Linked DNA regions of Homo sapiens: all the other regions are linked to region 3. Evidence: promoter capture Hi-C in 16 types of primary human blood cells and fetal thymus (Javierre and others, 2016). All regions are on one chromosome and are shown on one strand. Each heading gives the region's core, a stretch centred on a gene start or on the middle of the fragment in contact. The rest is flanking DNA. Distances are from core to core; before and after follow the strand shown.

Region 1 (5,911 bases), core at 3,319-5,818, 190 kb after region 3:
CATTTTTTCTGAAGAGATAGGAGAGAAATGAGGTGACATCCTGAAATAACAGTGAGGCAAGCCAGAACACTGTTCAGTGAATTCAATATATTAATACTATGTAGAAAGGATGGAAAGAGAAACACATAACCAAGGACAAATACAAAAGAGTATTATAAGCCTGTAAAAATAGTGCCAGACAGGCTAACACTCAGAATGAGCAGAGACTAGAAAAATGCCAGAGACAACAAAAACAGCTTTCAGTAGCTATGTTCTGAATTAGAAGAACAAGGAAGGGACAAGCTCACTGCTTGGGGAACGTTAAAGATGCAACGTTAAAGATGAGAAGAGAAAGGAGAATCACTCAAGTATTTTGTTTCTTTACCAAAAGGCAAGATCTTTCAACAGAGAGGAACAAAATCGATTTTGTTAAAATAATCTTGAAACTCAAACTGGATAAACAAATTTAAGTGGTCACCCAGAGGCTTTAAAAGTTTTCAAACCTGACAAGTTTTATGCCAGAATTTTAAAAAACTTGTACAAATGCTCATAAAACCACAATTTAGAAATGATTAAGGGAAAGATACCAAAAGACTAGAGATGAGAAAAACTAGATTTTTTGTAGAAAGAAAGCAGATTTCAGATTGTACAGCCTGCTGGATTTGATACTGATCATTATAGAAATCCTAAGATGAATTACTATTCAAATGGTTTATGGCCTCTTGGATGAGAAGCAGTAGTCACTAGAAACTAGCATGGGTTCACTGAGAACAAGGCATATTAAATGGAATCCCATTTCCATATTCCACCAGATTGCTAGTTATGTAAATCAGCTAAATACCGCCAATATGGCAAGGCCCCTGACAAAGTTTGCCTTGGTATTCTTATGGATTGAATGGAAATTGAGAGCTACATCATGGTTAATTGACCAGCCATGCGCAGGCAGCTGATTACATCAACATCTGAGAACATCTTGTCATAAATCACAGGGCTTCATCTTTGGCTGTATCCTCTATTTTATCAAGGATTTAGATGAAGATGCAGAAAGCATGATTATTGAGTTCATGGATGGGATAGCAGAGTTAGGACTCAAAATATATCTACAGACTATGGGACTGGCTAAAACTAACAAGGTGAAATTCAACAGGGGTAGAACTAAAGTTCTGCATTCAGGCTTAAAACAAAAGCTGAGCAGGTACAGACTGGGGATACCTGGTTTAAGAATAATTCATGTGAAAAACACTTAAGGTTTACTGTCTGACAAAAATATCAATGGCAGATTACAAGGTATAAGACTGATAAAACATTTTCTGCAATCTCAGACCACTGCTAGATGTAGTCTGCCCAGGACAAAAGAGGCAATCATCTCATTTCCCTGGACCAGTGTTCCTGACAACCCAGAACTTCTCCAGGGAGGACAAATACAATGATGAGTCATCTCAGAAGGTTGCCATAAGAGTAACTAGGCAATGACTGGTGGAGCTAAAGATATTTCTAGATATATAACCTAAAAAATTCTTGCACTTGTGTATAAGAAGTCACATATAAATATGCTCCTAGCAGCATTCATTGTTATGGCTACAAACAGAAATAACCTGAAGGTCCATCAACAGGAGAATGGATAAAGAAAATGTGGTATATTTATGAAACTCACAAACATAATCAGAATGGAAAAAGGAAGTTGAGTAAGAATACCTACAATATGATAGCATTTATTTACATCTAAAAACATGTACAATACTGATATGTATTCTTCAGTGATACATATGTACGAAGGAAAGTAATAAAGAAATTCGTGGGAGTGAGAACTACCAAATCCAGAGTAGTGGTTATGTCTCAGTGGAAAGGGAGGGCTAGGTAGTATGTGGTGGAAAAACACAATTTTCATTCTATTTAAAATGTTTTCTTTCTTAAGCTGGTGGTTGGATATATAGGTCCATATTATTTCACTCTGTTTATCATTTTCTATGTTTGAAATACAAATAATGCATTTTGAGGGAGGAATTTTAAAAACATATTATAATGAAATTCACATGGCATAAAATTAACAATTTTAAAGTGAACAATTCAGTACTATTTAGTACATTCACAGTGTGTGGAACCACCAACTCTATCTAATTTCAAAGCATTTCTATCACTACCAATGAAACCACATATCCATTAGCTAGTTTCTCTTCATTCCCCATAGAAGAATTTTTGTTCATTTGTTTGTTTGTATAGTGAAATTTTTTTAAAAAATAGATTTTTAGTTTTCAGAGTGGTTTTAGGTTCACAGCAGAAGTGAATGAAAGGTACAGACACTTCCCATGTGTCCCTACCCCAACACACGCACAACCTTCCTAGCTATCAACATCTCCCACCAGAGTGGCACATATGTTATAATTGATGAACCTAAATTGACACATCATTATTATACAGTTTGCACTAGGATTCGCTCTTGGTATACATATTTTGGGTTTGGACAAATGTATAATGACATGTATCCACCATTACAGTATCACACAAAGTAGTTTCACTGCCCTAAAATTTCTCGCTGCTCTGCTTACTCATCCCTCTCCATACTGAGTTTTTAAGTAGGGTGCTTTAAAAAAATTATAATAAAGAAGGAAAGAGGAAACATAATAACTATTTTTACACATCTTAAAATTTTTCCTATGGAAGAGAAATACAATTTTTATCCTGTAAAACTCCCATGGGATCAATAACGGTGTATCAGAAGAAGGAAAAGTTTGGTTTAACATAAGGAGGAACATTCTAACAAGATTGGAGCAGTATGTCATAGTAGTTCAGAATATGACTTTGAGTTAGAGTTGGGTTAAAGTCTGTTTAATGCACTCATTTTGGAAAAGTTGCTTAACTTCTCTGAGCTTTAGTTTCCTCATATTTATAGTGTAGATAATAATAGTACTGACTTAATGGAATTACTGTGAGAAATAATTTCAATGAAGCATATACATTATGGAGTAGTGAATAGCACAGAATAAGTGTGGCATAGATATAAGATAATTATTTTAAAAAAGAAAGAGTTGTCCATAGATAGAATGGCTATCTTTTTTTTTTATTATTATACTTTAAGTTTTAGGGTACATGTGCATATTGTGCAGGTTAGTTACATATGTATACATGTGCCATGCTGGTGCGCTGCACCCACTAACTCGTCATCTAGCATTAGGTATATCTCCCAATGCTATCCCTCCCCCCTCCCCCCACCCCACAACAGTCCCCAGAGGGTGATATTCCCCTTCCTGTGTCCATGTGATCTCATTGTTCAATTCCCACCTATGAGTGAGAATATGCGGTGTTTGGTTTTTTGTTCTTGCGATAGTTTACTGAGAATGATGATTTCCAATTTCATCCATGTCCCTACAAAGGACACGAACTCATCATTTTTTATGGCTGCATAGTATTCCATGGTGTATATGTGCCACATTTTCTTAATCCAGTCTATCGTTGTTGGACATTTGGGTTGGTTCCAAGTCTTTGCTATTGTGAATAATGCCGCAATAAACATACGTGTGCATGTGTCTTTATAGCAGCATGATTTATAGTCATTTGGATATATACCCAGTAATGGGATGGCTGGGTCAAATGGTATTTCTAGTTCTAGATCCCTGAGGAATTGCCACACTGACTTCCACAATGGTTGAACTAGTTTACAGTCCCACCAACAGTGTAAAAGTGTTCCTATTTCTCCACATCCTCTCCAGCACCTGTTGTTTCCTGACTTTTTAATGATTGCCATTCTAACTGGTGTGAGATGGCTATCTTGTATGACACTAAGCTTCTCAAAGCTATCAAAGTTCAAGTTGAGATTGGATGTGAACTGTCCAAGGTGCTGGGGAGAGGGAATTCTGCAAAAGGGATGTTAGGGTAAATGTTTTCTGTTATCCTCCTCACACACTGTTGAATCTAAACAGTCTTTGAAACTGAATAGCCATATTGTTGAGTGCTTCAAGTATGATGTATATTGGTTATTTATTGCTGTGAGTAATATTATCACAAACTTAGTGGCTTAAAACAACACACATTATCATACCACTTCCGTGGGTCAGGAGTCTGTGCATGGCTTTGTTGGGTCCTCTGGCTCAGGGTCTCATCTGAAAGCTGCAACCTAGATGTTGACCAGGACTGTGGTCTCTTCTCAATTGGAGAAAGGTCTGCTTCCAGTGTCATGTGGTTGTTAGCGAATTCATTTCCTTCTGGCTTGTTGGGCTGAAGGCCTCAGATTCTTGCTGACTGTCTGTGAGAGGCTGCCTTCAATTCCTGATTATTGGGCAGTGGGGAGACATCCTCAGCTCCCTGTCTTATACTGGAAACATAGACCTTTCCAATGTGCCTTCTTGCTTCATCAAAACCATCAAGGGAGGGAGTCTGCCAACAAGATGTCACAATTGTACACAACATAATCATGGAAGTGACATCTCAACACTTTTGCTATATGGTGTTGGTTAGAAGAGCATCAATGGTCCCACACACACTCATGGCGAGGAGACTACATAAGGGGATGAGTACCAGGAGGCAAAGATCATGGGGACCATTTCTGAGTTTGTCTATCCAAGGAAGGGGACTGTGCTGAGGACACCGGAGTATTAGTGCCTCCCTGGGTACCATGAGAGGGGGCAACAGAGGAGTCAGACACACATGCACAAATACAGAAAAGCACAGCTGAGACTGAGAAGGAGCAAGAGGAGGAGAGTCAGGGAGGCTGAGAGGCTAAACAACCAAGAAAGCAGAGTTCAGAGAAGGTGAGTGTAACAGGGACGCCCAGGCTTACTGAGCAGCCATTGTGGATAATGGGGTCCTGCTTGAAGACAGGACAGGCTACACCAGGAGTCTTGCCAGAAAAGGTCTTGTTTTCACAGAGTTTAGAGAGACAGTTTTTCTCATAATGTATTTTGGTACAAGTTGGATTTAGAAAAAGATGAAAGATGCATGCTAAAATCAGGCTTGGTTCTGTACCAGGCAGTATACCAGTCCTTTACGCACTTGAATATGCTTTGTCCTTCATGGACATTACTTGTGTTGTGCTATATGTGGCTAAAACTGCCTACTAACTGATGTGGGTGTGTTGAGCTTGGTGTTTAGATTGTTAGCCTTCTGATGAGGAGGTGGAAAAGAATCAAAAGGCAAGGAGCTGAGGCCAAAACCAAAGGATGGCCTTCCCCAGTGGCCAAGGAGCCCATCTTCAGAATGGCTCTGTATTTCATTACATGCCAAAAAGGCCGTCGGTCTTCTTATTTGGAGATGTATTTGCAGAGGGGCCCAGGAACTCAAGTTGCAGCCCTGGCTGCCCTCAATTCAATAATTTCTACATGATTATTCTATATAAGTATCCAGGGGTGGAGCAGGCTGTCTGAGCCTATACGCCTTGCTTTGAATAAGATCTAGAGAAGCTTCAAATCATTGAACAACAGATTCATGTAAAGCTGGCACTAAGATGGTTGGTGATAATCTTATAGCCACACAACTCATGGTTGGAAGGAGCCTTCTAGCCAAATCCTCCTATCAAGGCTGAACTCAGGGATAAGCTGAACTTGGGTCAGCTACTTTAGATTCTTCATGGTTTTACGCTTCTTGTTTTTCATTAATAGTAAAGTAAGGAGATTTTTAAATCTCTGGAAAACGAAGATTCTATTATGAATTCAGAAAATGGGTACAAGAGCTTGGGTTTGAGACCAAATACCCTTGACAATATTTTCCCCAGATGACTAGCTCATGGTGTGTTTCAGTTATCATTCCATCAGTAGAGCTGAATTTTGCATCTTGTAAGTGTCTTCATCTCAACTCAAAACCTGAGGAGATTTTTTTTTTTTTTTTTTTCTCTCAGTTGTCGGTGAGTCAGCACTAATGTGCTTATGAATCAGGCAGTGTGGGCGAGCCACACATTCATCAACACTCTGGAATAGAGGGGCAGCCCAGGAGCTGATGTCTT
Region 2 (6,399 bases), core at 2,955-5,454, 210 kb after region 3:
CCTTCTGCAGCTTTTTCCCTCATTAAATGGGGCTAACCTGCATACCAATAGAATCTTGCAGAAATGATGGTGAGCTTAGTCTTATAAGACACTGTGGCTTCCACCGTGCACTTTCTCAGATTGTTCACTCTCGGGGAAGCTAGCCACCAAGTTGTAAGGACACTCAAGCACCCTTGTAGAAGCCCACATGGGGAGAAGCTGAGGCCTCCTGCAATGACCAATATCACACAAACGAGCCATCTTGGAAGCAGATCCTCTATTCCTACCAGGTTGAAGACTGCAACCTTCAACATCTTGACTGAAACCTCGTGAGAGACCCTGAGCCAGAACCACTCAGATAAACTGCTTCTGAATTCCTGACCCACAGAAATTATGAGATAATAAATGTTTATTATTTTCAACCACTGAGTTTTAGGGTAATTTGTTATGCATCAGTAGATAAATGGAGAATTCATGAACTTCTTACACTCTGCTGAATTGCAAAGCCTTGCCAATACCAGTGGGTCAGAGAAATCCCTCTAAGAAACATTCACATTTGTATGCCTGAAAGTAGGAGTCTGAAATAACAGCCATTCAAGATCCCTCCTGGTAGGAAGCCTTGTTTATTTAGAAGCAGAATATGGGTCAGATCACCAACAGTTGCCTAAATTTCCCATTTTCACATTAAGATGACTAAGAACAACTTGAAGGTTGTTCACAATCTGATCCATTGTTCAGCAACCAACTGCTGTGAGAATTGAGAACAAAATAAATTGACCATACTTTGGGGTATTGGGCAATCTTGTCTATAGCTGATCAGCATCCTTGGGATCAAATATCCATTACTGGAACATCTCCAGCAATTTGCAGTACATCAACCAAAACCTTTCAAGCAACAAGGTTTATACTGGATGTCAAAAAGAACTGTTACTGTGAAGTCTGAAATCTCTGCAGTTTTTGATTGTTGGATCTCACCTGGCCCAGCAGGTGTCTTTCTTCTAAAGTCCATGACTCACCTAAGCCAAAGAGGACAAAAACACAAAGCCCTGGAGAAAAATCTGTGATTGAGGTCAACAGAGTCTCTTGGGCTGCACTTTTTGGACTGTCCAGATCCTCAGCTCTTGCCTAGGCAGTCAGGGGCAGGGAGCCCATGCTACAAAGTCCAAGCCAATCCCCTCTGATGGCTGAACTCACCTGTGTTACAGAGGGGTCAGCACTTGATGAGGAAGGAAAATATAATGCACATTTTCTAGACATATTTCATAGGATGTTTTTTCCAAAGATGAGCTGTTGCAAGTTGACCCCAGATAATGCAGAGCACTGGAAAGGGTACATACAGGTAAATGAGTAGGTTGCAGCGTGGACAGAAAGAACACACCCATTTACTGAAGCTGCTGGAGAGTCAGGTCAGCATGCTCTTTACTTTTGTGTATGTCTCTTGGGGTGCCACTTCCCCTCTCCCTCGGGTCCCTCTGAAACTGTGTAAGCTAAAAGGATTTGGGACCATGAGCCCTGTACCCCATATTTGTCTAAGCCAGTGGTTTTGCCTCTAGAACTTGCTGCTGCAGGAATATATGACTACCTTGAGACACATCAGCTTCAAGAATGGCTGTGATAATAATCCTTTGCCTTGTCACCAGTTATATGAATCTATCTTAAGATAAGGCCTTTGTGTGATATCATTAGGGCTGTAGGACTTGTTCATCAAATTAAGTGGATCTACTAGTGAGGTAATGCGTGTTTATATCACAAGGGCCAGTATATGGGGTTCACGATGAGCTTCATTCTATCAGAACAAGTGTGGTAATGACTTCAGGAAGATTGGCACACACACTCCACTTCAGTTTGGCAGTTGCTCAGCCAACAGTTGGAAACCCGTTTAAATAAATAAAACTGGTTAAGTGGAAAAGAGGATAGGACTGGAATACAGAAACCCCACATTCTAATTCTATTCCTCTAAATCACTTTGGAGGTGCATGCCCTGACAAGTTCCCATGTCCCTCTCCCTCAAAGACAGGAGCTTCTTGCAGGTGGTGGCTGTATCCTCTTCTTCATATTCCTGGTGCCTGGCATGGGCCTGGGTACTCACAAGGCTCTCAGTAAATGGTTGCTGCCAATGACTAAAAAAGTAAATAAGTGCACATATCCACATTCACATATGTATATATGTGGTTAAATGAGCGTGAAAGGAAGTCTAAAAGGATGTACTCCATGCTGCCAACACAGGGGCCGAGGTAATGTGGATAGTTCAGGGAAGAAGAGGAGGTAGAGAGAGGCAAGCAATGGAGAAAAAAAAAAGAGAGTGCACTAAAAATTCTACATGTATAGTATAATCTTGTAAAAGTATGTGTATGTATGCATAAACAAATTAGAGGAAAAATGATGATGTTTGTATGTTAAGTCAAAGCAAGTTGCAGAGTATTTCAGTTAAAAACTATAAACAAAAACATCCCATATATCTGTTATATATGCATAATTAGGTTTAAATGAGCAAAAGGGAGGGTGTATATTTGGGTGCTTTGAGACACCACCCAACTGAGGCACTCAATTTTGCAGCTGCTGGGAGCGTTGGCTGCTGACAGCTCACAGCTGAGTCCCTTTTCAGGAATCACCACCAGCCAAAAAGAGCTGCTTTGCCCATCCTCTCCCTGGGGGCAGCCCAGAGCCAAAGAGAGGCGGGTGTGTGTGGGGCCCTAAGACCTGGATCCTTTTTCAATGCAGGACACCTCCAACGTTCCCTCTGGCCAGTTCCACTTCCTGTACTTCCCCCAGGTGCCGTAGCCCTCAGGAGTAAGTCTCAGTAAGCCTTCTGTGTGCATATCCAGTCTCAAGCTGTTTCCTGGGAATTATGACAGTGTGGAAGGATACTTACCAGTGTATTAAAATGTTACTTAAGGAACCGAGATTGGGAGAAACGATTAGCGTCTTCTGCATACATTTTTATATTGACTTTTTTATTATAATAAGCATGTGTCACTTTTATAATTTTAGGAATATCAAATGAAGAACTTTAAAATGTAATAAACATGTTAGTTGAATGAGTGAATAACTGTGCCTACATCTAGTTGGAGAAATAGGTAACAATAAAATAGCATGTCAAAAGTACCCGGTGTTTTTAATAAACTCAAGTGAAGGGGATTTTCATAATTTTTTTCATGACTTTTGATGCAGTTGGTTCAAAAGATATTGGACAAGCTTTCTGAGAGTGAGGTTAGCACCTCACAGGTGAGGATGAGGAAAAGAAAGGTCAGTGGGTGGAAGCAAACAGGAGGGGGAGTTGTAATTCCATGGAAGAAGAGATTTTCTAGTCTCAGAGCTATCTGCCCCCCAAATAGGCTGCAATCTGTGGGCAGCTACCATCTAAATTACACTGTCCAAAGAACCTGCGATTCTTCCATTTGGTGAGCAGCCAGATTAGAATTGGAAGAGAAAAATACCTGGCATTTATATCACCTGCAACACCTCCCAGTCCTGGGCCCTGGCAAACCCATTGATGACCAGTTCTTTCCCTGTGATGCCACCTCAGAATTATTGTCCCCACTCGCCAGGCAGCCACAGTGGATGCACTGGAGTATTCACTCAAGATGGAAAATGTTTGCCCTTCCAGAACTAAATAATCTTTACACTTCTTCCAATTCTGAGGGTTTCATGAGGTCCTCCAGGGAAGGTTAATTTATTCACAGATGTCTTAGATGAGCAAGCCTCTACCTCAGCCAAATGCTTGCTTCTTCCTCTCTCAGATGTCGCCTGATTTTTGCAAATCCATCCTCTTGAAGCACCTATAAATGATATCCCTGGGGCTCAGTGTCCCATTTGGAGAAGGCTTAGCAGGGTTTGTGAGAAGCAAGCCCTTGAAGGCATAATTATCGAGCCACCAACTGTGTTGACACTTCCTTGGAAATTGTGTAGCGGAGGCCTGGCTGAAGATCTGCGTAGGACCCCTGGTTACAGAAGCTGACAAATTTGCTTACTCAGAAGGCTCTCACTTAACAATCGATGCCACTGCTTCTGTTGGAGGTTGTTCTAATCTGGGAGAATTACTTTGTTTTGCATGCATTTATTCCTTCTTTGTTGAACTTTTATGCACTGGCATTGTGCTTGGGACAGGAACTAAAGCAGTGAGAAAGTTGAAGACTCTGACCCTGAAGAGTTGGGAGTCCAGAGTGAGCATGGCACAAATAAAGAGGTTTATAGTACATGGAGATTTTCACAACATAGGAATGCTTAGAGTGCCAAGGACATTAAGGACATAAGAGGGGGTCAGGTTGGGGAGGAGGTTTGTATGGGAGGCCTTTTGGAGGGAGTGTCAAGCATTTGTCATAATCAGATCAGCTAAGCATGTTATTACAGTCACTTTCAAAAACCTAAAGCACATTTCTGGATTTATAATCATTCCATAGATTTGTTTACCTCAAATATTTTCCTTTTTATTGAAAACTATGAGAATGAATGAAAGAAAATCAATGAAATAAATGAAAGTCTCTGGAGAGAAAAAGCAACTAAGCAACAATTTTCTTTGCTTTGGAAATTCACATGGTGCACCTACAAATTTATTTTAAAGGCGATGTGGTACTTAGAATAGAAAGGGAAACCAGGGTTTCTTATTTTGAAACCATTAATATATTTCTTCCCTCCCTTATTTCTGTTTCAGGTGGCTGTATCGTTTTAACTGCATAGAGGGCAGGTCTCTTTTGGAATTAGGATTAAAGAAAGTGCAGTAAAGAGAAAGCATCGAAGACACCATCACAAAAGGTATTTCCTGTGAACATTTGATCATTCATCATTCCCATGGCCAGTCTGTGGCTTTCATATGTAACTGCATATTCCCAGGGATCTGAGACCTTTTGTTACTGGAACAACACCCTGGGGGCTAGTCTCCTTGAAATGAGGTGGTCAACAGCATTAGCTCCTCTGGGCTTCATGCAGTCTCTGAAAAAGCTGGAGAAACCGGGTACCAAGGCTTTGGCTTCTCATAAAATATTTCTGAATGCATTTCATGATGCGGTTGGTAATGAAAGTGTGTTACTGTGCTCAGTCCCTCCAAGAAGCTAGACTTGACTCCCAGCCTGCCTGTGCCTGCACTGGGCCCGCATGAATCAGTGATAAATTATTCACCAGTCTCGCTCTAAAATTTCTGGAGTTCCAAAACCCCTAATAAAGTATTATGAAAAAATATCCATCTCTTTATCTCTATCCATAACTATATGGCTGGAGGAAAAACCTGTCATTTTATTTCCTTTAATTTAAAAGCTTTCCTAATTCCTTTTTCATACCACATATATATGTCTAAAGAATTTTCAGGTTGAAATAATAACCTCTAAAAAATGGTCCACAGGAGAAGGCTCTTAGGATTCATAGAGTTGTCAGGCACAGTGAATATTTTGCTCCTTTAATAACTTTCCATGGCACTCAAACTTGATATACTGAACTGGGAACTTTTCAAACAGGTGTGGCCGTTTTTTATTGCACAAAACAATAATATAGCCACCAGTCTTCTCTCTGTATTTGTTATACAGTTTGTTATACAGCTTAAGTTTGTTGTGAAAAGTTTGTTCGGGAGCTCATTTTCTTCCTTAGACTCACTACAGTCTCAGTATCCCTCATGCTACTCTACAGATTTAAGGCAAGTCTTTTCTGAAGCCCCATGTTTGAATCAGCCCAGAACACCCTCAGTGGCAGCCTGCCTTCCTTGGGGGCACTTGACTACAAAGTACCCCATGCCATTTAAAACACCTTTGAACATTCCAATTCACAAGAGACATCATCACATCACGCTGGCTATCAACCATTCACACTTAAGGGAGAATTGGTTAATTTGTTGCTTCTAGGATACCAGCTGGTTCAGATCAAGTTCTCTGCAACCAAGCAGACATGGAAGGTGGACCAGGGTGTACCAACGGCTAAGGTTGCCTGTCGCGAAAGCAACACTGGCAGTGTATTACAATGAAGACATTTTTACTGACCTGCACTCTGCTCAGGGAAAGCACTTGTGTGGATAAAAGAATATTTGACAAACCCTGCTGATTAAATCTCAAAGCCACCTCCTGGCACAGAGGGCAGTCCATCTTTCCCGGCCAAGCCTGTCACATGTGTCTGAACCACCTCACAGGAGAACATAGCTTGTCCAGATTAGTCCCCTTCCCCACACACTTACAAATCACTTTTCACTAGCATGGCTTGGTGTTGGAATTGCAGGAGTTACCAAATAGGTAGGCAGCCAGGTCCCCTCATGGCTCCTTGGCAATTCAAACCCAGGTGCTCACAGGCTGGCCTGAACTGCCTTGCTTGCCTGCTTCTATCTCACCTTCATTTCCCATGCATTTGAAGCAGCTTATTTTAAAAGCTGATTAGATGAGCCCTTAATAACATTAGAATTTAAATGGTCCCAGATAGGTTTTCAGCTTCTTGCCAAATTGAGAT
Region 3 (6,285 bases), core at 3,017-5,516:
ATGAGTGGGAAATAGGAAGACTTACTCCCAAAACATTACCTGGATAGGACAGGCTTTGGGGGTGTTGATTAATCATCTAGATAGTGTCCACTGCTCCTCTTTCCCCTTCTTCTTGGCCAGAGCTCTGAGGTCATCACAGGTCTTATCTGGTGTTTACACCAAACTTTCTGTCTTTCTATGCTCATGGAAACAGTGGCAAGATGGGGGCCTAGGTTAGTCTAGGAATTGAGGGCTCCCTTGGCTATTCTGTACTTGCCATATCTCAAAGCTGGATCCTAGGTTCCCTTCCCTTTTCTGTCAAAAAGCCACAGTTGCACTTCCTGAGTCCCTATGTCCAGACCTCAAGTACTGGAAGGGTTGATCCAAGAGCTTTCTGGAATGCTGGTCATGGTATGGATTTTCCTTGTGAAATTCCACCATGGTATTTCACCACATAGTGGCTCCTGATTCCCTGGAGATAGCTGGGTGCCTAAGGAGATGCTCGGTTTGGTGGAGGAGAGCTTGGGGGCTGGAGTGCTAGGTAGAAAACAAAAATTCGGGGGCTGGCTGGACAGGTGGCTCATGCCTGTAATCCCAGCATTTTGGGAGGCTGAGGCAGGTGGATCACCTGTGGTCAGGAGTTCAAGTCTGGCCTGGCCATAATGGTGAAACCCCATCTCTATTAAAAATATCAAAATTAGCTGGGAGTGGTGGTGCATGCCTGTAATTTCAGCTACTTGGGAGGCTGAGGCAAGAAAATAATATCTTGAACCTGGGAGGCAAAGGTTGCAGTGAGCCGAGATCGCGCCACTGCACTGCAGCCTGGGTGACAGAATGAGTGAGACTCCATCTCAAACAAACAAACAAACAAACAAACAAACAAAAGATCCAGGGGCCAATGATTACCAGCTTCCAAAGAGGAATGGTGATTGAGGGGTCTTGTCATTAGAAGTAGATCAGAAGCCAAGAAACCAGTAACTGATCCAAAGAACAAGTAACTGATCTCAGTCCCAATATCATCTTCAACTACATATTTGGTTATTGTTATGAGCCAATCAGTAAGTATTTTCAGGCTATTTTCTGGGTATCAAGCACTTCAGCTACAAGGACTAAAGAAGAAATATAAAACTTGATCCAGAGGTCAAGGAAATAGGGTTGAGATTCTGCCCTCAGTCTTCTTTGTTTTCTCTCCTGTTGGTGGTCTCCATCCAGCAACTATTATGTCCATGTAAATGGGCTCCAGATCTAAATCACCAATCCAGATCTCTCATCTGAGCTCCAGAACTCCAGCCACTGCCAGGACAGCTCTATTATAGTATATAAGCTCACTCTCCCAAAGCCTGACATATCCAAAATCAAATTCATCCATCAATCTCACTTCTCTTCTACTCTTCCCAAACCCATCCATATTCCAAAGCTTCACATCTTTCTGTCTACAATGATCTTCTTTCTACTCTCCCTCTAATCAGTGTCTCACTATTCATTAAGAAAACTCGGATCTCATGTTTCTATTTATAAAATGTCTAGGTGCAATGGAGCAGTCTCCTGAACCTACATTCTTTACGGTCCAGATGAATGGCCACTTCCCAGGTGAAGTCTCCCATAACCCCTCCTAGGCAGAAGGACCTTTCCTTCCTCTGGGCTCCCAGAGCACTTAATCTGAAACCTTCTTTTAGCCGTTTCTACATTCATCTTCATTTCAAATCCAAGTCTCTGATGTCTCCGTACTTCTGAAATATTCCTACTTCCCAATACATTTAATAATTGTACATCCACCAGAAAAAAAATACTAGCACCCTAAATTTCCCCTTTTTTTGAACTGACTAGTGCCTTTTTTATGGGTTTCTCATCTAATAGTAACAGATCATACTTCCAGCTTCCTGGTAGATGCTACACCCTCACTCGGTTATGTTAGCTTCTATGTTATTGAAACACTCTATTAAATGGTGTGGGCACTTCTAAGTGATGAGAGAAGATATCATCATGCTTCACAAAGGGGATGACTTTAGAGTCAAATAGATGTGCATTTGATTTGGGTTCTATACTTATTAGATGTGTGAACTTGAGCAAGCCACTTAACTTTTATGAGCCTCAGATTCCCCATTTGTCAGTGGAAGGGTAATACTTTCTTTGAAAGTTTCCTACTATGCTCTTTCCCCTTTCCCTCCTCCATGAGTTTGCACATGCTATGCCTTCAGCTTAATTCTCTCACCCACTTTTTGCTGGGAAGACTTCTGATTATTCAGGCCTCAGCTTAGATGCTGCATACCTTAGGAATTCCCCTAGCCCTCAAAGATCAAGTTAGTTGTGTTTTCCATGTGCTCACTGCCCAAATTCTTGGCACTTAGTCCTTGAATTGTAATCATTTGTGTCTTGCTCTTTCTTTCCCCCTTTGAGGAACTGGTAACTCTGTTGAGGACAGGGACCATGATTTGTTAATTGTCACCTACCATCTTTGTCCTACTTCATCCACTTTTCACCCAAAAAAAAAAAAAAAGCCAGAAAAAGTAAGCCACCTCAGCTAAGGAATTCATAATTCTGAGATTCTGAAGAAAATGTCAATTTCTCACTGAGCGTTTATTACCTGAATGCATTACAACGTTTCAGCTCTTCAAATTGCTGGCTCCGTTCTTGCACTGTGTTAGGCAGTGGGCAATAATTTGCTTTTGGTACAGAAATTGAGTGATGTGTCTTCTGAACTGATGTTAAAACCCAATAGTTTCCAATTTTATAAGATTTAAAGCCAGTTTTGTATATGTGAAACTACCCAAATCACCAAGAGAATTAATTTTCTTAGGAGATTCTCATCGGTAATAGCAATTTCCACAGTTTGTTTGGCACCCCTAGTGGTAAATATTTTATTTTAAAAACTCAGCCACATATAAATTTATTGTAACAATCTAGGCACTTTGTCATAAATAAAAGCAATGATAACTGTGGTGCTATCTTCTATTTACTTCAAATGTCACTCCTGAAGTGTACATTTATAGAACATGGTAATTCAATGAGGAAGCTCCAGGGTCAGATGGCTCAGGTTCCATTACCATCCCTGACACTCACTAGTTGTGTGATCTTTGGAAAGTTATTTCATTCCTCTGTTACTCAGTTCCCAGTCTATAGAGTAGCAATAATAGCCTCTGCATTATAGAGTTATTGTATGGCTTAAATGAGCTAATACATGTAAGGGCTTATAACAGTGCCTAGCACCTGGTATAAACACTCTATAAATGTTAGCTATTGTTATTTGCCAGGAGTGAATCAAATATAAGAAGAGTGTTTGTATAAGATTACCTTTAAATTCCCTGCCAATCCTGAGGTTCTATGTTTCTATATCATTCCAGTCCCTTAGCATTCCTATTCAGTAGGGAGGGGGCAGCATTATCCACATTTTACAAACAGTAAAATTGAGCCATAGAGAAGCAAAATGTCCAGTAAGCAAGTGGCAGTCTGAAACCAGGACTCAGATTTTTAGATGTAAGTATTAGGACTCTTTCCGGGAGGCTGTGTGGCTGTACATTTAAAAGAGAATGTTAGATATCCCTTATGAGCCTATGAGCAGTGACCCCTTGATGCCCCTTCTCTGCCAAGGTTCTCCATAAATGTGCATCAAGGTCACTTCTGTCTCTACTTCTGAGATGATCTCAGGCCATATCTTTTCAGATATTTTTCTTACTAGCTTTACAAAAAAGCTATATTGTGGAGTTGGATGAAGGGCCAGCTCCCTGTATCCTCTGCCTCTTTAGGCATTCCCATGCCTGGGTTGTGCTACGTATACACATACTTCACCTGGCTGCAGACGCTGACTTTTTGGAGGGTTCCTTCTGCTGAGCCCGGACCTCAAACCACTTGAGAACCCCACAACTGACCTTATTCCAAAACATTCTATCCCAACCCATTCCACCCTGGATTTCTCCTTCAATCATGGGCAAAGGATCTGCAAAAGCTTCCATCCTCTCCCTTTCTCTTCTTATCTGGGTTGGTCAGAGGGAAGCCTCTATCTTCTTCAGGACCCTGCCTATGCAGAGGCAGCTCCAAGAGTTGGGTGCGGGGAGTATTTCTGTGCCTGAATCTGGACTGTTCAAGAGGATTTAGGATGCTTTTCTTTTCTGTCCACTAGGGGGCTGCTTGTAGGGGGATGGAAAAAACGGAGGCTTAAAAAAATCATGCTGCTGAAATTTCAGCAAGAGGGGAAAAGAGAGAGCGCGTGAGAGAGAGAGAGAGAGAGAGAGAGAGAGAGAGAGAGAGAGAGAGACAGCAAAGCAGTCCCAGGCTTCCTCCTCTCTTTCACGTCAGAGGCAGGAACCGACTGTGCTAAGGCTGTTGGCTCAACACCCAGAGGAGACGGGCAGACCCAGGGAGAGTGAGAGAAGGGGGTCCTCTCTGACCCAAGGAATTACCACTAGTGGAGTGAAGCCACCTGACTTTTTGATCTTATTTTGGTTGCCTCCTCATTCTCCTTCCACCCGTAGCCCTGACAGCTTGGGTTTCATTTCTTTCGTGGAGCCTTGTCTCTTCCTCCCAGAATAGGAGGAAGGGAAGAGAAGGGAAAGAGGAGGGCTCTCTAGGTGAGCGCATCAGCTGGCTCCAGCCTGAGCAAGCAAGAATTTTCTTCCCAGGAAGCTCCTCTCGCTCCCCGGCCGCCCACCCCCAGCCTGGGTAAGTCCAGAGCACTCGCTCCTTTGATTTTCTGGCTAACGTGATTTCAGCACCAAGGAGAGCTATGAGATGCATTTTGGTTCCTGTGTATCTGTGTGTTCTGCAAGGCATTTGGCACTAGGGTTACATCTATTTCTCTGCTGCCAGTAGAGTCGGGTTCTGCGTAGGGAAAAGAAAGGCGCAAAACTATGTTTACCGAATTAAAGGGGGATTGGACTCTGGCCTTGCGGGTGTGTGTGTGTGTGTGTGTGTGTGTGTGTGTACTGTTGCATAAGACAGGTGAGGTCTGAGCTAAATTGCGGGTGGTTTCTGCGTGTCTCCATGTAAGGCTGTTCTTTTTGTCTGTAGATAAGCGAGATGGTTTGGGGAATTAGTCGTGCACCTTCTTTAACTCTCTCCCGACAAGCCATCCATGGTGGGAAAGAGTTGCAAAGGAAGCCTGGGGGGTTGGGAGTGGAGGTAGAGTTAAAAGTTACGCACCTCTGAGAGAGCTTTAAAGAGGTGCTTTGTAAAATGTCAGTTTCCTAGTATTCTCTGGGCTCTTGCTGTGGAGAGAGCCCAACCTGACCTTTTACTTTCTCTTCTGGTGTGAACCCATGGTAAGTGGGCAGGTGCAACAGGTGAAGCTCAGGCTGGGGCGGCTTTGGGGGGTTGAGGTCCCTTCTGACTTCATGGTGGTAGGAAAGTGCTAGTGTCTTGAGCTTTGCAGAGACTGGCTGGTGTGGGTTATATTACATTTGCAAGGAGGCAGGAGGTACCCTCCACTTTTATGCCATCTTTGGCTATGGGTGGTTGGAAAGAAGACAAAGTCTGTTCTGCCCTGTTTTCTGGGGCATTTGGCAGTGAAAAACAACTAAGAATAAAGGTTTGTCTCTATATGTCTAGGGTGAGCAGAAACAAAATTAGACTTGTCCCAGACTCAGGAGGGCTTGAAGTGGTACTCTGTTCTCCTCCAGCACTGAGAGGCTCTGCAAACAGGAGCTCATTATTACTTCTTTCTTCACTGCTGCTACTTTTTGCAAGGTATTACTCTGTCTCTCCTGCTTTCTGCCTCTCTGAAGTATGTTCAGTCAATTCCCTGCATCTGCTTTGGTATTGTCTTGGAGACACTATAGGCCTGCCCCTGCCCCATTCAGTCCTGGCCACACCTACCTGGTTGAGTCATTCAACAAGTGGTGTTGAGGATTTCCTTCAATCATTCAAGTCTCCGTGGAGCCAGCATCCTACAGGGAACTTGAAAGAGATGTGGCTTCTTGTAGGAGCAAGTCTTCCCTTGATTTAACCCCTAACTGTTTATGGTTCTGGTCACTTTCTTCAAGTGTGTTGAGACAGGGGAGATACATAGGCAAGGTGGGGTGGTTTCACTCTTTCCAACCCCAAATGGACCCTAGAATGGTGATTCTTTGTCTTATTTTTAATTCAGCACAATGGGCCCCTTCTCCAAGATGAAGAAAATACTCTCTGCCTCTGGCTGGGGAGCCTTCTGGGTGAGAGACACAGTTCTGAGTGAAATGGCACCACTTTTCTTTTTTACTATGCTTGGCATTGGATCCAGAAATCTTAGCATCTCCCTAGAGTGGCAGGAAGTAGAATGCATCCAGGAAGACAGTGAAGTCAGAGGTTGTAAGGGTAGGGAAGAAAGACTGAAAT
Region 4 (6,678 bases), core at 3,913-6,412, 230 kb after region 3:
ATAGTGCCCTAATTCTTCCTGTTCCCTCCGACTCAAACTCTTAAATCAGCAGCTAACTGAAAGATCCTAGCATACTGCCATAGTCACTTTGGAAAAGCTCAGGTCCTGCTGGCATCAGTCTGCCTGGATCTGTTTCAGAGAAACAGAAACCCAGAAGGGAGTGGAGAAGTTCAACCCCTGCTTGATCCATATGGGAATGGTTCAAGCAATTAGATTGAGGCTGTGTCAGGGAGCGATATCATGAGCACGGTCATTTCTCCCTCTCTCCTTGGTCCCCAACCTTATCAGGAAATGGACCACACAGTCCCTTAGAAACCATTCCTCATTTTTCCAGGATGCTGACCCACCACTTGAGAAGTGCCACTTTCCTCCTGGGCCACGCTGTCATTTGTTAGCTGCTAATCATTCATTAACCTTCCAGGTACCTTGCGGAAACCAGGACCTTGCCTCATTTGCAAAGGTGGTTCACTGAGTCCCCCTTTAATAAAATTACAACTTCAGGAAACAAATCATTTGTATCAAATACAACCCCATGGCTTCCTCTTATGTTAATCATTTCAGGCAGGTGCTATTAGGTAATTCAATCACTACGTTACAGAAAGCCACTACTGAATTAATGAGGAATAAACTTGAATTCTGAATAAGAAATTTTCTGAATAAATGGTTCTGAATAAAAAACCAAGAGCCAAGCCTATAATCACAACAGACAGCAACAATATAAAATTGGATATTAAACAGTCCTCACATCCATCCATTCTTAGTCCACAAATTCTTTTGGAGCTTAAAGAACATATTGCAGCCACCAACAAGAACCTTCCAGGTTTGCCACTTTCCTACTATTTTCTTCATACTTTTTCAAGTGAGCTGGATACATTTTGAAGCCCTCATCCCAATTTAGAATACACTTTAGTTTAGTCCTAAGGTGAGTCTTTCCTTAAAAAGAGCATCCATGCCTGTAGCCCCATTCAGACTCTGAAATTCCCTTTGTTCCCATCTGGCCTACCTGCATCCAGACTCCCTCCTGTCAGGACACTTTCCCCACAGCACCCTGGTGGCTGTTCACATCCCTGCCTAACACTCACTAACCATTTTCACTGTTCTCACTTTCTTAGCAAGGAATGCACAACAATTCAGGACCAGGCTTGTCTTTCCAGCCTCATCTCTTCTTAGACCCCTATAGGAATGCACCCTGTATTCTGGCCACACCCAAGTCCAGAATGTTCTATGCTCTTTCATAGTGCCATGTTGTTCCTTGCACTAGAATGCCTGCTCCAAACTAATTCTCTCCTTTTAAAGTTCATCCTGAACATTGCCTCCTCCTCAAACCCTCTCTGACTCCCTCTTTACCCCCAAACCTAGACTGAATTAGGCGCCCATGTTTCCTTAGCATCTGAGGGCAGAGCTCAATTATTGAACAGAGCATTCAATACTATATGCGGGAGCACAGATCTTTCTCTTCAACTAGATTGACATCTCCTTGAGAGTAAGACTACACAGTGTTTCACCTTATATTGTCAAGGCTGGGCATAGGGTAGATGCATAGCAAATATTTGATGAATGAATGGGCCAATGACAGAATACAAGAAATAATGACTGAATAAATAAATACACCCGATCACATGATTTATGCTAATTCCAGCAGCCACACTTCCATTCTCCAGCTCTGGGCAGAAGCATTTTAAAAGTTTATTTTCATAACCTGACATTCAGTTGGTGAAGACTTGGCCCGGAACGAGTTGGTCTCCCCACAGTAAGTGACACCATCGCAACTTCTTTATCCTCCCACTCTTTATCTGAAAAAAAATAGACTGGGTAGCATGGACGAGATGTTTCCCTGCAGCAGGAAACCACTATTAGCACAAACCATGTGGTGACCATGTTGCCTTCCTCAGGGGCAGTCATCCAGCCCCACAGGAAATCTCCCCCGCTCTGCACACTGCATTTGGTTTTCACAGAGCTGTGGTCGCCTGGCATTTATCATGCTGTGCTTCATCAGAGATTTAATCAGGTCTGAGTTTTTAACAACGTGCTCGTCATGCTCACTTAACTTAAAATCAAGCCTGTTCAGGCATTAGTTGGTCCTATTCACTCAGTCTAGTAGTTTTGGCATTTAAAACTGTAGACTTTTTCATCAAGGTACACTACGTTTTTACCAAGCATCTCCCTACACAAAAACTTCTCAGACTGTTTCCCTGGGAACCATGGTTCCCTGGTTGAATAGTCCAGCTGCTGGAAGGGATGTATCTGTGTATTGGTTTCCTGTTGATGCCATAACAGATGACCACAGACTTCGTGGCTGAAAACAATAAAAATGTATTATCTTACTGCTCTGTAGGTCAGACACAGGTCACACTGAGCTTTTGCCAAGGTGTTGGCAGGGCTGCATTCTTTCTGGAGGCTCTCGGGGAGAACATGTTTTCTTGCATTTTCCATGCAGGGTACAGGCTACCCATGCTCTTTGGCTGGTGTCCTCTTCCTCCATATCAAAGCCAGCAATGGCTGATGGAGTTCTCACATAGCATCACTCTGATTTCCTCTTTTGCCTCCCTCTTCCACTTTTAGGGACCCTTGTGATTACACTAGGAATACCCAGTTCATCAGGTTAATCTCCCTATTTTAAGGTCAGCTGATGAGCAACCTTAAGTCCCCTTAGCTATATAAGGTAGCATATTCACAGATTCCAGAGACTAAGGTATGGATGTCTTTGAGGCGTCATTATTCTGCCCATCACAACTTATATGACTCTGGACCTCTGGAAGTGATCCTTTACATAACCTCATGGGTCCAGTGTGGACCTTCCAATGGTGACATCAGAGTCACCTGGAAGCTTTTTAGAAATGCAGATACTCCAAACCCATCCCAGACCTTCAGAATCAGAATCTACATTTTCACAAATTTTCCGCGGATTAGATGTGCATGTGCAGTGAGTTTGAGAAGCCCTCTCCAGAGGTTCCCTGAGCAGGCAGAGGAAAGAGCTTAGACTCTGGTGTTGAAAAATGATTTTATCTGGAAACACGTAATAAGGAAGGGGTCCTGAGGAGCCCAGTCAATAGCACCCCTCTTCCCTGTCAGAGCTCTGAACAAATAGAAATGTAAGAAAAAGAAGGGAGCCAGGTAGAGACCTAGATTTCACATTGGTAAACTGATATTTGATGATGTTACTTTTGCCTGCACCTATAACATTGAACCTTGAGATGAGGAGGGCTTCTTCCTACCCAGTCGCAGCAGCACTGCACTGGGGAGGGTCCCTCCCCTGCAGCCCCCTGCAGGCAGGGACAGAGCATGTGGAGAGGGATTTCTAGGAAGGAGGAGTGCATCTGAGAGCACCTGCTCTCTGCAGGCAGACCAACTCCAAAAAGGAAGAAGAAGAACCTAGACTACATGTGTTCGATTTCTTTTTCCAAACTTTGCAAGCAGGTAGATCACTAGTGAATAAGGGGATGGAGATGAGACAGGAGAGTTATAGCTCAGAGAGCTGCCTCCATATGGGAGGAAACATCAGGAGATGAATCAACATTTCCCCCAATAAATAACGCCTACAGCACAGTGTAGTGGGGAAGACAGAGAGACAGCCCACGCAGAAGCACTTGATACACAGCAGGAATCCCATTACAAGGATTACCATGTTATCCACCAATTTAAAACCTGGCAACCCAACAGAACATCCTAAGAACTTATTACAAAATGTGGTTTCCTGGACCCTTACCCTAGGCGATTCAGATTCAGTAGGTGTAAGTTGGGGCCAGGGAACCATACTGACCTGAAATTCTATAGCATCCAAGTGAGGAAATGGCTGATGCCTTGGTCCATTCAGTCATTTAGGCTGGACTATACCTAAACCAGAGAACTTCTGGTTGCAAGTTACAGAAACCAACTGGAGCTGGCTTACCTAAAAGGGGAAGTGTGTTGCAGGATCCATGGGTATCTTGCAGAACAAAAAAGCAAAGGGCACGTGTTGGGAAGGGACTGACCCCAGGAACTAATGCGTTTCCAGGAACCCACGATGTGCTCTCTCCATCTCTCATTTCTGCTTCTCTTGATGACCTACACTGTCTTCTGTGTTTTCATGCATGTGATGGACTCTGCACAACTCTTAAAGGTGCTTTTCCTCTGGACACTGAAGACAGATTAGCACTCTTTTAGTCTCCATTCTAAATTCCTAGGCAGAGAATATGACTGACCCAAGTCAGGTCAGCTGTTTTCACCAGGTTCAGGGGCCTGGGGTTATAGTACTCATCTCTCCATCTCCATAGGGATATGTTGGAGGGAGGATAATTCTAGAGGAAAGAAGTCATCACTTGTTTGGTAGATACCAAAAGAGTCTACTAAGAGTTGCTATCCTATATTTTTAAAATTGCTTTTCCCCAATAGCCAGAGAATAAAAAAAGAAAACCTTGTGACTTTGAGTGTCTGATAAAGATTTTTAAAATATTTCTAATTTACACTTAGAATCAGTCTCATTGAAATACTAGTTTTAGTGAAATCCTCAAGATGATGCCTCTCCTGCCTACTTGAAATGGTCACGGATCTTAACTCCTTTGGAGAGGGTGCTCCTCCTTCTAAATGGCTCACTTTCCCCAGATAGTTCTGGCCCTTTTACATGCTTCTTTCTAGGGTGAAGAGAGTTCTCTTCCAAGGAGATATGTTCTAGGAGTGAATGCCACATCCATTTATGTTGGAATTTTTTTAATGAATATTTCGACCTACTAGACCATAAGTTCTTCCAGAGTCAAGAGATTCTATCTCAATCATCCTATAGCTGTAGCACCTATTAAAGTGCTGGATCACAGTGGTTACCCAATATGTGTTGTTGACTTTAGCAATGAATGAGAAGTCTTGTTCTTCAAAAAGTAATGTAATAATATCATGCTTAGTGAGAAGTCATTGTGTACCAGGAAACAATGCCAGGAGAGAGCTCCAAAACTCAGGACTGTTGTGCCTTTCTGGAAGAAGAGTCCGTGATCACCTCACTACGGGTCAGGGGAAGGAAAGGGGAACTGAGAGATTTGTCAGTGTGAGAAGCAGTCCCAGGAGTTAGAAGTAGTGGCTCCATGACTCACAAATTAACTTCCCTTTCAGGCAGGGCTTCTTATTTTCCTTAGCATCCCTGTCTTGATCCCAGCCTGCTCAGACCCCTGCCTCTCACTGCAAGATGTGCTTGAGTCATGAGAGTCAGGAATGTTACTTCTCAGAGGCGCCAAATGGCAGTTGTCACAGGGTCATCATAGAGGGAATGTAGAGACCTTTCATGAATGTTTATTCTAATTGCAGTACAATAAAACCTTAGACTTCACAATCCATCATTCCTCTATCAAATCAAATATTACAGGGCTCATGTCTTTATCATGACAGTATTTTATTCTAAAAGTGTATTTTCCTACATTTTCCAACTTCTAAAATAATAAAAAATAGCTTTGGCATGACAGTTGCCTGACATAAATGAAAACACAATTTAATGAAATGGCATTTTATGAATTTAAAGTGAAGCAAATATTTGACATGCTTTATTTAAATTAATTTGCTATGCATGCTCTGTTGTTTCAATTGCAGCAGAGCTTTGTTTTATTATATGTTTACTGCACTGGGCTCTGAGGCTTGCTTGTGAAGAAACAGAAGCTAAGGGATCCAGGGAGTCCCAACTTAGAGAGTCCCACAGGCCCACACTCTGGTTCTGTTGGCAGGAAAATTTGGCTGAATTGGGGCAGGAAGTTGTGTAACAAAACGATTACATCCATTTTTGCAAGGCAAGAGTGAGCTATTCACCTCCATGTTGGTGATATTTTTTGCCATATAAGCAGCTAATTCCTTTCAGTAATTCTACTCTAAACTAGTCTTAATGTGACTTCTATATAAATTCTGAACTGAATAATTTTGGGAACGTTGTAAAAATATCCTTGCTAAACTTTCTAGAAAAACAATCTGCCAGTTCTAGGATACTATCACTTCAGGGGAAGCTGTGGCAAAGCTATCTCATTAATTTACTATCTGATACTTTAAAGATAAATGCACCCAACTCCTGGATTTATAGAATAAACTTGCTTTGAAATAAGCAAATAATACTATTTTGATTTGAAATTCCAGATACTTATTTACTTTCTTCTTTTTATAGTTTCCTGAATCAGGAGTTTGTAGTTCCAATTAAGAGTTTTTCAACAGCTTGTAGTTATAGGGACATTATTTGACTATGGTTATTATTTGCTTTACCTAACCACTCACCTGGTACAACGACCTCCATCCTGGAAGAGGGATAGGAAACAATAATGATGGTGCTGACTCTCACCAGGAAAGGCCATGGGGGACACGGGATAGAGGTTGTAAACTGAGTGAGGGTCAAAAGTAACAGATAACTTTTGTGCACACGGATGGTAACTTGTGGTGTCTTTTTTTTTTTCTTTGCTTTGGGCAAAGGTCTTCACAGTTCTTAGGATCAAGTGCACTTTGAAGATGAGGATGTAATTTACAGACAAAATAAAGTCCCTGGACTTAGAAGAGGAAAACCCTTAAATACATTTCATTTCATTTCATTTATTTTCAAGACAGGGTCTTGCTCTGTCATCCGGGCTGGAGTGCAGTGGTACAAACATGACTCACTGTGGCCTCGACCTCCTGGGCTCAAGTGATCCTCCCACCTCAGCCTCCTGAGTACCTGGGACTACAGGCATGCACCACCACATACAG

The links. The method cuts DNA at HindIII sites, captures the fragments that hold promoters and counts their contacts. A CHiCAGO score of 5 or more calls a contact.
Region 1: a contact is called between a fragment that was not itself captured here and the fragment with the promoter of TNR in region 3, in 1 of 17 cell types (endothelial precursors). The highest score is 6.8, in endothelial precursors.
Region 2: a contact is called between a fragment that was not itself captured here and the fragment with the promoter of TNR in region 3, in 1 of 17 cell types (endothelial precursors). The highest score is 5.5, in endothelial precursors.
Region 4: a contact is called between a fragment that was not itself captured here and the fragment with the promoter of TNR in region 3, in 1 of 17 cell types (endothelial precursors). The highest score is 6.3, in endothelial precursors.

What each region holds. Positions count from the first base shown.
Region 1 is chr1:175,555,404-175,561,314 of GRCh38, reverse strand. All of the region lies in intron 1 of TNR (tenascin R), which reads left to right. Among named protein-coding and RNA genes, the nearest start is that of TNR, 190 kb to the left of the region's middle. The HindIII fragment of the contact is 1,612 bases long and covers 3,763-5,374 here.
Region 2 is chr1:175,526,601-175,532,999 of GRCh38, reverse strand. TNR (tenascin R) reads left to right here. Exons shown (of 23, transcript NM_003285.3): 2 at 4,631-4,731. Among named protein-coding and RNA genes, the nearest start is that of TNR, 210 kb to the left of the region's middle. The HindIII fragment of the contact is 2,055 bases long and covers 3,177-5,231 here.
Region 3 is chr1:175,741,576-175,747,860 of GRCh38, reverse strand. TNR (tenascin R) reads left to right here and starts at 4,266. Exons shown (of 23, transcript NM_003285.3): 1 at 4,266-4,635. The HindIII fragment of the contact is 6,381 bases long and covers 3,925-6,285 here.
Region 4 is chr1:175,510,084-175,516,761 of GRCh38, reverse strand. The region is part of intron 2 of TNR (tenascin R); the gene reads left to right. Among named protein-coding and RNA genes, the nearest start is that of TNR, 230 kb to the left of the region's middle. The HindIII fragment of the contact is 4,666 bases long and covers 2,830-6,678 here.